3 separate regions of the Homo sapiens genome follow, and all the other regions are linked to region 2. The links are contacts of gene promoters, found by promoter capture Hi-C in human tissues and cell types (Jung and others, 2019). All regions are on one chromosome and are shown on one strand. Each heading gives the region's core, a stretch centred on a gene start or on the middle of the fragment in contact. The rest is flanking DNA. Distances are from core to core; before and after follow the strand shown.

The links. The method cuts DNA at HindIII sites, captures the fragments that hold promoters and counts their contacts. A contact is called where the count stands out against the background at its distance.
Region 1: a fragment that was not itself captured here is called in contact with the fragment with the promoter of SH3RF1 in region 2 in 5 of the 25 tissues and cell types used here (H1 embryonic stem cells, dorsolateral prefrontal cortex, hippocampus and 2 more).
Region 3: a fragment that was not itself captured here is called in contact with the fragment with the promoter of SH3RF1 in region 2 in 2 of the 25 tissues and cell types used here (dorsolateral prefrontal cortex and stomach).

The regions. Positions count from the first base shown.
Region 1 is chr4:169,156,969-169,159,668 of GRCh38, forward strand. The region is part of intron 2 of SH3RF1 (SH3 domain containing ring finger 1); the gene reads right to left. Among named protein-coding and RNA genes, the nearest start is that of SH3RF1, 110 kb to the right of the region's middle. The HindIII fragment of the contact is 4,174 bases long and covers 1-2,700 here.
Region 2 is chr4:169,269,548-169,272,247 of GRCh38, forward strand. It overlaps SH3RF1 (SH3 domain containing ring finger 1), which reads right to left and starts at 1,409. Exons shown (of 12, transcript NM_020870.4): 1 at 1,312-1,409. RefSeq lists silencers at 630-849, 1,090-1,849, 1,890-2,039. The HindIII fragment of the contact is 13,720 bases long and covers 1-2,700 here.
Region 3 is chr4:169,188,445-169,191,144 of GRCh38, forward strand. All of the region lies in intron 2 of SH3RF1 (SH3 domain containing ring finger 1), which reads right to left. Among named protein-coding and RNA genes, the nearest start is that of SH3RF1, 81 kb to the right of the region's middle. The HindIII fragment of the contact is 6,148 bases long and covers 1-2,700 here.

The DNA.
Region 1 (2,700 bases), core at 195-2,694, 110 kb before region 2:
AGTATATGAAAGCATGACTGCCAGGTCTGCCTCTCAAGAACTCATAAAAAACAAGCTTAACTTCCTACATTAACTACTTTATTCATCAGGATAAATGATAAACACTGAGGAGAAATGATAGATACTGAGGGGAAAAATTTAAACCAAATTTATTAATTTACTAAACTGCTTTTAAGCTTGGTTGATAAAAATCAGAGTTCGGCTTTTAGGCAAATCTCTTCCTGATATTGCTTTTAATGTGGGCAGTAGGTCTTACTCTTTCATGAGCTCAATGAGTATTTAATGAGGGTCTACTCCTGGATACAGCAGTGAGTGAACAGTCACAGTACCTGCCATCCCCAAGTTTATAATCTGTAAGTGTATAGACACGTGGTCTTTTACAGCCTAAGATCATTCAACTTTGCTCTTTCCTGGAAGAGAGCACATTGTTAGGCTGATAAGCTAAGAGATGAGGAATTTAATGTTCCTGCATTGCATTACTGTTTTAAATGACAAGTTTAAAATTGTGTACATAAACCCCAGTGCAATTTAATCATCAACTGATTAATATGATACTTTTCAACGGCATTGGGGGTGCCCAATCTTGAGCATCAGTTGTCACTTTAAGATCTTTGGCCTCTCTGAGCGCTGTTGCATATCGTTGATTCAGGAGATAAGTGGCAAATCCAACATGTCTATAATAATTCCCTGAACAAGATTACAGGGCTCCTGCTTTTGGAGTCTTTATTTATTTATTCACTCTTCCAGAAAACATTTATCAAGCTTTTACTTTTTTTTTCTTTTTTTTTTTTAAGACGGAGTCTTGCTCTGTTGCCCAGGCTGGAGTGCAGTGGTGCAATCTCGGCTCACTGCAACCTCTGCCTCCTGGGTTGAGTGATTTTAACGCTTCAGCCTCCCAAGTAGCTGGGATTGCAGGCAAGCACCACTATGTCTGGCTCATTTTTGTATTTTTACAAAATGGGGTCTCGCCATGTTGGCCAGGCTGGTCTCAAACTCCTGACCTCAAATGATCCACCCACCTTGGCCTCCCAAAGTGCTGGGATTATAGGCATGAGCCATCGCACCCAGTGCAAGCTTTTACTTTTTACCACGCAATGTGCAAGTGCTGATGACTTAAAGAAGAATAAGACAGTTCTTTTCTTAAAGGATATTAGTAATAACTACAATACAGTGTAATAAATGTAATGATAAAGATATGCACACCATTTATGGGGACAAAAAACATAGGTCTCTCGTGTTTGGTGAGTAGGAAAATGAAACACTTCCTGGAGGAAGTGACACATGAGCCAAGTCTTAAAGGATGCACAGGAATTAGTTGTCAAGGTTGGAGTGAATGAATGAAAGAGAACAGTAAGGGCATTCCAGGCAGAGGGGTCAGCACCAGCAAAGACCTGGAGGTAAGAAGTCACATGTGCAGCGGGACTGGGGAGCATAAAGAATGCAGTATTCCTGGATAAGAATTACGGAACATAAAGGAGAGGTAGGCAGAGGCCAGTTTATTGAGGGTCTTGTATAACATATGAAAGAGTTTTTATTGCTGCGTTCTTCTGGTAATGGTAAGTCATTTCCATGTTTAATGCACAAACAGACTTAGGTCCTATGTGCCGGACAGATCAGTCTGGCAGTAGTGTGGAAAATGGACGTGAAGTGGGCAGGCAGGCAGAGAGCTATGTGCAAAGCACAGGCCTCAACTAGTTGAATATTTTTTAAGTTTAATATTTCCAATGAAGTAGAGCAATATAGTTAGCATTACTTATATCATTGTCTGCCCCCCGACCTGTAAAAAGTGGATCAAAGTTTTATACCCTTGATGGCAACAGAACTTCATAACACAATTTTCAAAAATTAGTTTGGTTTCTACTTAGAGACTTAGAGTCTGGACTACCTATAAGCCAAATTTGTTTTGCTAAACATTTGTTTAGGAATATTAATTATTGCTCTCAAAATGCTATTGGCAATCATCTTGCCTTGGCTTAGTCCATGTGATGTTGTAGTTGGTTAATTAGAACTTCCCTGAGAGGCCAATGTCCTGGGAAGACAGGGGTTGAGCCTTCCAGAGTAATGACACCCTCCTGTGACCTCTGACTTTCAGACTCTGTCTTAAGATCTGGCCTCCAATGGCGTCACTTCTGCTACTCTGCCTTGACCTAATCTTGTAAGCAATTCTGCTGTGCCCAGAAAGGAAATGCCCACCAAGAACTCTGGTCATTCACAACGCTGTGTACTCTGGTCACATTACATTAGTGTCCAACTCTGGGGAAAGAAGAATTCTAATTTTTCTCTACCCTCACAGATGCCTCATTATATTCTCCACTATATTATGTATTTCTTCAAGGCTAGTTATCACAGCTTAACAACATTTCCAAAAATAGGTTTGAGGAAATAATAGTAAAACACAGCAATCGACAGAGAGAGAGAGATAGAGAGAGAGAAAGAGAGAGAACTGGCAAGTACTATACTAAATCTCTTGTACAATAGCTAAAGAGACTCTGATCAGGCAGTATAGGGTACTGGCTGGAAGCACAAACTCCAGAGCCAGATTGCAGGGTGTGAATCCCATTTACTAGCTCTGTGATTTGGGGCAGGTTAACTCGCTGTGCCTCTTTCTTCATTTGGGCTGTTGTGAGGATTTAGTGAATTCATATATATAAGCCACACCTTAAATGACCCAGCAGGCAGTACATGCTACATGTGTGAACC
Region 2 (2,700 bases), core at 159-2,658:
AGGCACAGAGTATTACATAATTCCCGCAGAAGGATTTATGAAGTGCAATAAGGAACATAATTTCTTAAGCTCTGAAAGTGGTATCAGCTGCCTTAATAAAGTCTTCAACTCATAGGAGAAGCTGACAGAGGCCATTGAAAGTTTCCTCTACCTGAAATTTACTTTTATATCCAACTAAATTCCCTTTTTTAAGCCACTTTAGCGTTTAAGAAACCATGCCTCATGTAATCGCTCGTGGTAAATGATCCCAATATTAAATACATATGTTTCTTCGCTGTTATTAAAAATAGAACTGTTTAATTTTGCCCAACCAAAAAGAGCTGAAGGTTGACAATTCTAAAAGACACAGATTTGCTTGAAAGCAGCTAAAACAGAAAAGCGCCCTTCAGGGCAGTAGTTGATAAACTCTGAAACACATTTCTGAACGGCCTGTCCTAATCCCATTCAGAAAAGCTGGCAAAATTATCACCAAAAGAATTCGACAATGGAAGGTTGGACTGGAAACTGTGGGCATATGAAAATGAGGCCATTCAGGAAAAAGCAAGCCACTTACTGCGCCGCTCTCCCCCCACCGCCAAAATAAATGTAAAAGTGAATGCCCAGGAGAACGGGAGTAAAAAGATTTGGCTGGGAGCATTAACAGCTGTTCTTGACAAAGCCGGAGCGGGGGAGCCCCAGGGCTGCACCCCCGCTCCCACGGCGCCAAGCACAGGTACTCCCAAGCCCGCAGGGAGGCGCGGCGGCCGCTCGCCGCAGACACACCCCGGGGCCAGGTGTCGGCGGCACCCGGCAGGAGCCGGTCGCGGCCTGGGGCTGCGGCCCGGCCGGTCCCGGCGTGGGGATCTCACCCTACAGCCTCCCTCATCTCCGCCTCCCTTTAGCTCAGGCCGGGGACACAAATCCCTCTACACGACTGCGGGAAGTTTTCAAGGACTTAAAAATAAATGCGCAGGCTTAAGTTGCGAAACTCAGCCCCACAGAGTGCCACGGGGAAGCAGCTTTCTAGCCCAGCCAAGATAAGGCGACAGTCCCCAGAGAGACCGCGCCATCCGGGAAGCAGGGGGTGCTGGGCTGCGCCCGGGGAGACCGCGGCACGGAGCCCTGGCAGCTTCCTGCCCGGAGAAGGCAGAGGCCGCGGGCTGCTCCGCTTCCGCAGGTCCTGATTCCCGGCCCACGGGGACCCGAGGGCGAGGGGAGAGAGAGACCGACCCAGGGCGGGGATGGGGGAATGTCGAGACCACCGCCTTCTCCGCGGCTAGGGGTCCGCCGACGCTGGGTCCCCGTCGACCCCGCGCCGGCCGCGCGCCCTACCTCGCGCCTCGGCTCCTCCTCTTTGTTCGCGGCCCCGCAGCGGCTGCGGCGGCTGATGCAGATGCGGCCCCACCGCGCTCGCCGCTCGCAGTGTCTCTGACGCCGCGGCGGCACCGGGAGACTCCTCTCTGCTGCCCCCCTCACGCGCGCACACACACCACGCCGCCGCCGCCGCCTCCCACTTTCCCAGCCAAGGAGGGCGGAGGAAGAGGAGGAGGAGGCCGGGACGCAGCCGGCGCCCGGGGCGCAAGGGGGCGGCCCCGCGCCACAGCGCCTTCCCCGGGAGCGGGCGCGGCACCTCTCGGAGCCACCCGCCGCCGCGCCGGCCTCCCGCGCTGAGGTGACCTGCGCCCAGTACCCCGCCGGAGCCCGGGGGCGGGATTGGGGCGGCGGCCTGAGGGGGCGCTGCAAGAGCCTAGAGGATGGGGAGCGGGGCCCCCAGGGGACTACGAGGGGAAGGCTCGGGGACGGACGCCTTCTCCCTGAGGAGAACGCGCCTGAAAAATGGAGCCACCGGACGGGAAGGCGGCGGGAGTGGAGGCTGGGGGAAGCAGGAAGAAGCCCCGGGACAGGGTCCCGCCGCCTCCTCCTCCCCCCGGCGGGGCTGGGAGCCCTGGACGGACCCTTCCTCCCCAGGCTGGGCGAGTCGCGGCGCGGGAGGGGCTGGGTCCGCGGAGGCGGCGGGAGCAGCCCTGGCGGGAACCGATCCCGCTGCGCTTTGCGTCTGGTTGCCCACCCCGGACACTTACTTGGTAGAGTCGGAGCGAAGTGTTGCCCCTTAGGGCCGAGAGCGGCGTGGTGAATCGATGGGGACAGTGCCGCGGCCACCTGTCCGCACCCAGCCATCAGTCACCCCAGGACCCAAACCGGAGCAAGCCTGGAGGACCGCTGACCCCAAAGCCCAAGACTAGGAAAACGGTAGTACGGACTTCCAACCCAGGCTCGGGGGCTCTGTTATCCCTGCCCTAAGTGGGGAGAATTGAGTCTGACCTCAGGTGGGCTGGCACCGCAAAGCACGCTGAGAGGCGCCTCTTTTATCTGAGCCTGGGTGGCTGCCATCATCGCAGTAATCTTTGTTTTGGTTGCCCCAAGCACACACCTGTAAACCGAAGTGGAGTTTTGAAAAACATCTTGTCCATAGGTTTTGAGGTTTTTCAGTCTCGATTTAGTGGAGAAGCAAGTTAAAATTTTGTCACTGATCTAAAGTTGACATTACTATATTTGCATTTACCATCAATTTACAAAAAGTTATCCCAAATACCCCTCCTCAAAGGTGGGCAGAAACTAGGTGGTTATAAGAAGAAAGGGTTACAACAGATGATGCAAGAAATCTCTGCCCAGCCACCAACTAGGTTTATGATTTGACGAGGAGTCTCAGTTTATCCTCTA
Region 3 (2,700 bases), core at 144-2,643, 81 kb before region 2:
GAAGGTTGAAGCAAAACCTAACTGTAAAACCGAAAGGCCCTGTATACAGCTTGTTACTCTAATACTATAACCATTAAGAAACGATACACTGCTTTTCTCTAATTATTTCTGAAACCCTCCCCTTATTTACAGTATAAAAGCTAATGAAAATGTACTTGTGATCGTTGTAATTCACTGAAAATCTGACAGGAAAAAAGCCCACATGTAAAAACATCGACACACTCAAAATCTTTAAAGCTTTCTGGCTTATGTAACAATTTCAACCTGTATACGGCAGTTCAATAAATTCTAAATGAAAAGCTTTATGCAGAAGTGGCCAAAATTGGCAAAATAATTTCTTCCATACTCCCTCTATCAATTTGGTGCGTGTGCTTCAAGCTTTCAGCAAGGAGTGTTAAACACATGCTCTTCTCTTCTATAATATTTTGGTGGTTGCGTCACTAAGAAAATAGTTTATCAATGTACCACTTGTAACTGACTTTTTCAATGGAATTATGTAGTTACCTCAACCTCTTCAAAAAGATAAATATAGTGCAAAAGCAAAAAACAACAAGAAGAAAAAAAGAAAATGAAAACTTCCAGGGATACAATTTAACTGTCTCATTCTTGTAGAAAAAAGATAGTTTGGGCTTAAATAGTTATTCTGAAGAGATTCTTGTCAGTTCAAGTAGAAGCTTTTGTAAATGTCTAAAATGAAGCACATTGTGGTTCTCACAATTCTATTTCCGTTGATGCAAAAGTGAATATTTACCACAATAAGCAAACACAATACCATTTCCCAAAACACTTAAATTCAGAAAAAACTATCTGCAATTAGTCAACTATGTCATAAAGCAGGCAGCACCTCGTGCTGACATTTTGCTGTTATTTTAGTCCCATTAAAACACTTTTTAAAAAATATCTGGTATTCTATTTTGACCAGTCCCACATGGGGCCAAGACTGGCAGAAGTCATGGTAGGTTAGCATGAGTTTTCTTACTCCTCATCACAGCTCTGGAGGTGAAAAGCCAGAACAAGATCCATGCCAGGGCAGGAAAGAACTACATGTGAAAAGAAAGCAGGTACACTGTTGCTTTCCTCTCCCCAGGACTCCTCTACAGATCTTTCAAATCATAAAGTTTCTGTTGCCACGGCTATCAGTGCAATACCACAGGTTAAAAATAAAACCAGTGGTGGCCTATGCTGTTAGAGAAAGTTGGGTGCATAGGAAAAGACAAGCTTTGGGACCAGGCAGGCGTGGGCTCCTATTTCTGACCCACTGCTGGTTAGCTGCGTGCTCTTGGGCAAGTTGCTCGAATCCCCAAAGTTTAATTTCTTCATTCAAGGGTTGTAAGGCTGAAGGGAGATCAAGTATGAAAAGCACCTAATGCTACTCAAGTCTACTACACTCAATAAATGTTACCTCCTTTTCAAATGAAATTATATCAAGCACTCTCTCAGACCACAGTGGAATAAAACTGGAAATCAACTCCAAAAGGAACCTTCAAAACCATGCAAATACATGGAAATTAAATAACCTGCTCCTGAATCATTGGGTCAAAAATGAAATCAAGATGAAAATTTAAAAATTATTCTAACTGAGTGACAATAGTGACACAAACTATCAAAACCTATGGGACACAGCAAAAGGCAGTGCCAAGAGGAAAGTTCATAGCCCTAAACGCCTACATCAAAAAGTCTGAAACAGCACAGACATTCTAAGGTCACACCTCAAGGAACCGGAGAAACAAGAACAAACCAAACCTGAACCCAGCAAAAGAAAGGAAATAACCAAGATCAGAGCAGAAGCAAATGAAATTGAAACAAACAAAAAATACAAAAGATAAATGAAACAAAAAGCTGGTTCTTTGAAAAGATAAATCAAATTGATAGACCATTAGCAAGATTAACAAAGAAAAGAAGAGAGAAAATCCAAATAAGCTCAATAAGAAACAAAACGAGAGACATTACAACTGACAACACAGAAATACAAAAGATCATTCGAGGTTACTATGAACACCTTTACATGCATAAACTAGAAAACCTAGAGGAGATGGATAAATTTCTAGAGAGATACAACCCTCCTAGCTTAATCAGGAAGAATTAGATACCCTGAACAGACAAATAACAAGCAGAGAGACTGAAATGGTCATTTTAAAATTACCAAAAAAAAAAAAGTCCAGTACCAGATGGATTCACAGCAGAATTCTACCAGACATTCAAAGAAGAATTGATCCCAGTCCTATTGACACTATTCCGCAAGACAGAGAAAGAGGGAACCCTCCCTAAATCATTCTATGAAGCCAGCATCACCCTAATACCAAAACCAGGAAAGGATATAACCAAAAAAGAAAACTACAGACCAATATCCCTGATGAACACAGATGCTAAAATCCTTAACAAAGGACTAGCTAACCAAATCCAACAACATATCAAGAAGATAATCCACCATGATCAAGTGGGTTTCATAAAAGGGATGCAGGTATGGTTTAACACACACAAGTCAATAAATGTGATACACCACATAAACAGAATTAAAAACAAAAATCACATCATCATCTCAATAGATGCAGAAAAAGCATTCGACAAAATCCAGCATCCCTTTACGATTAAAACTCTGGGCAAAATTGCCTTACAAGGGACATACCTCAATGTAATAAAAGCCATCTATGACAAACCCACAGCCAACATAATACTAAATGGGGAAAAGTTGAAATAATT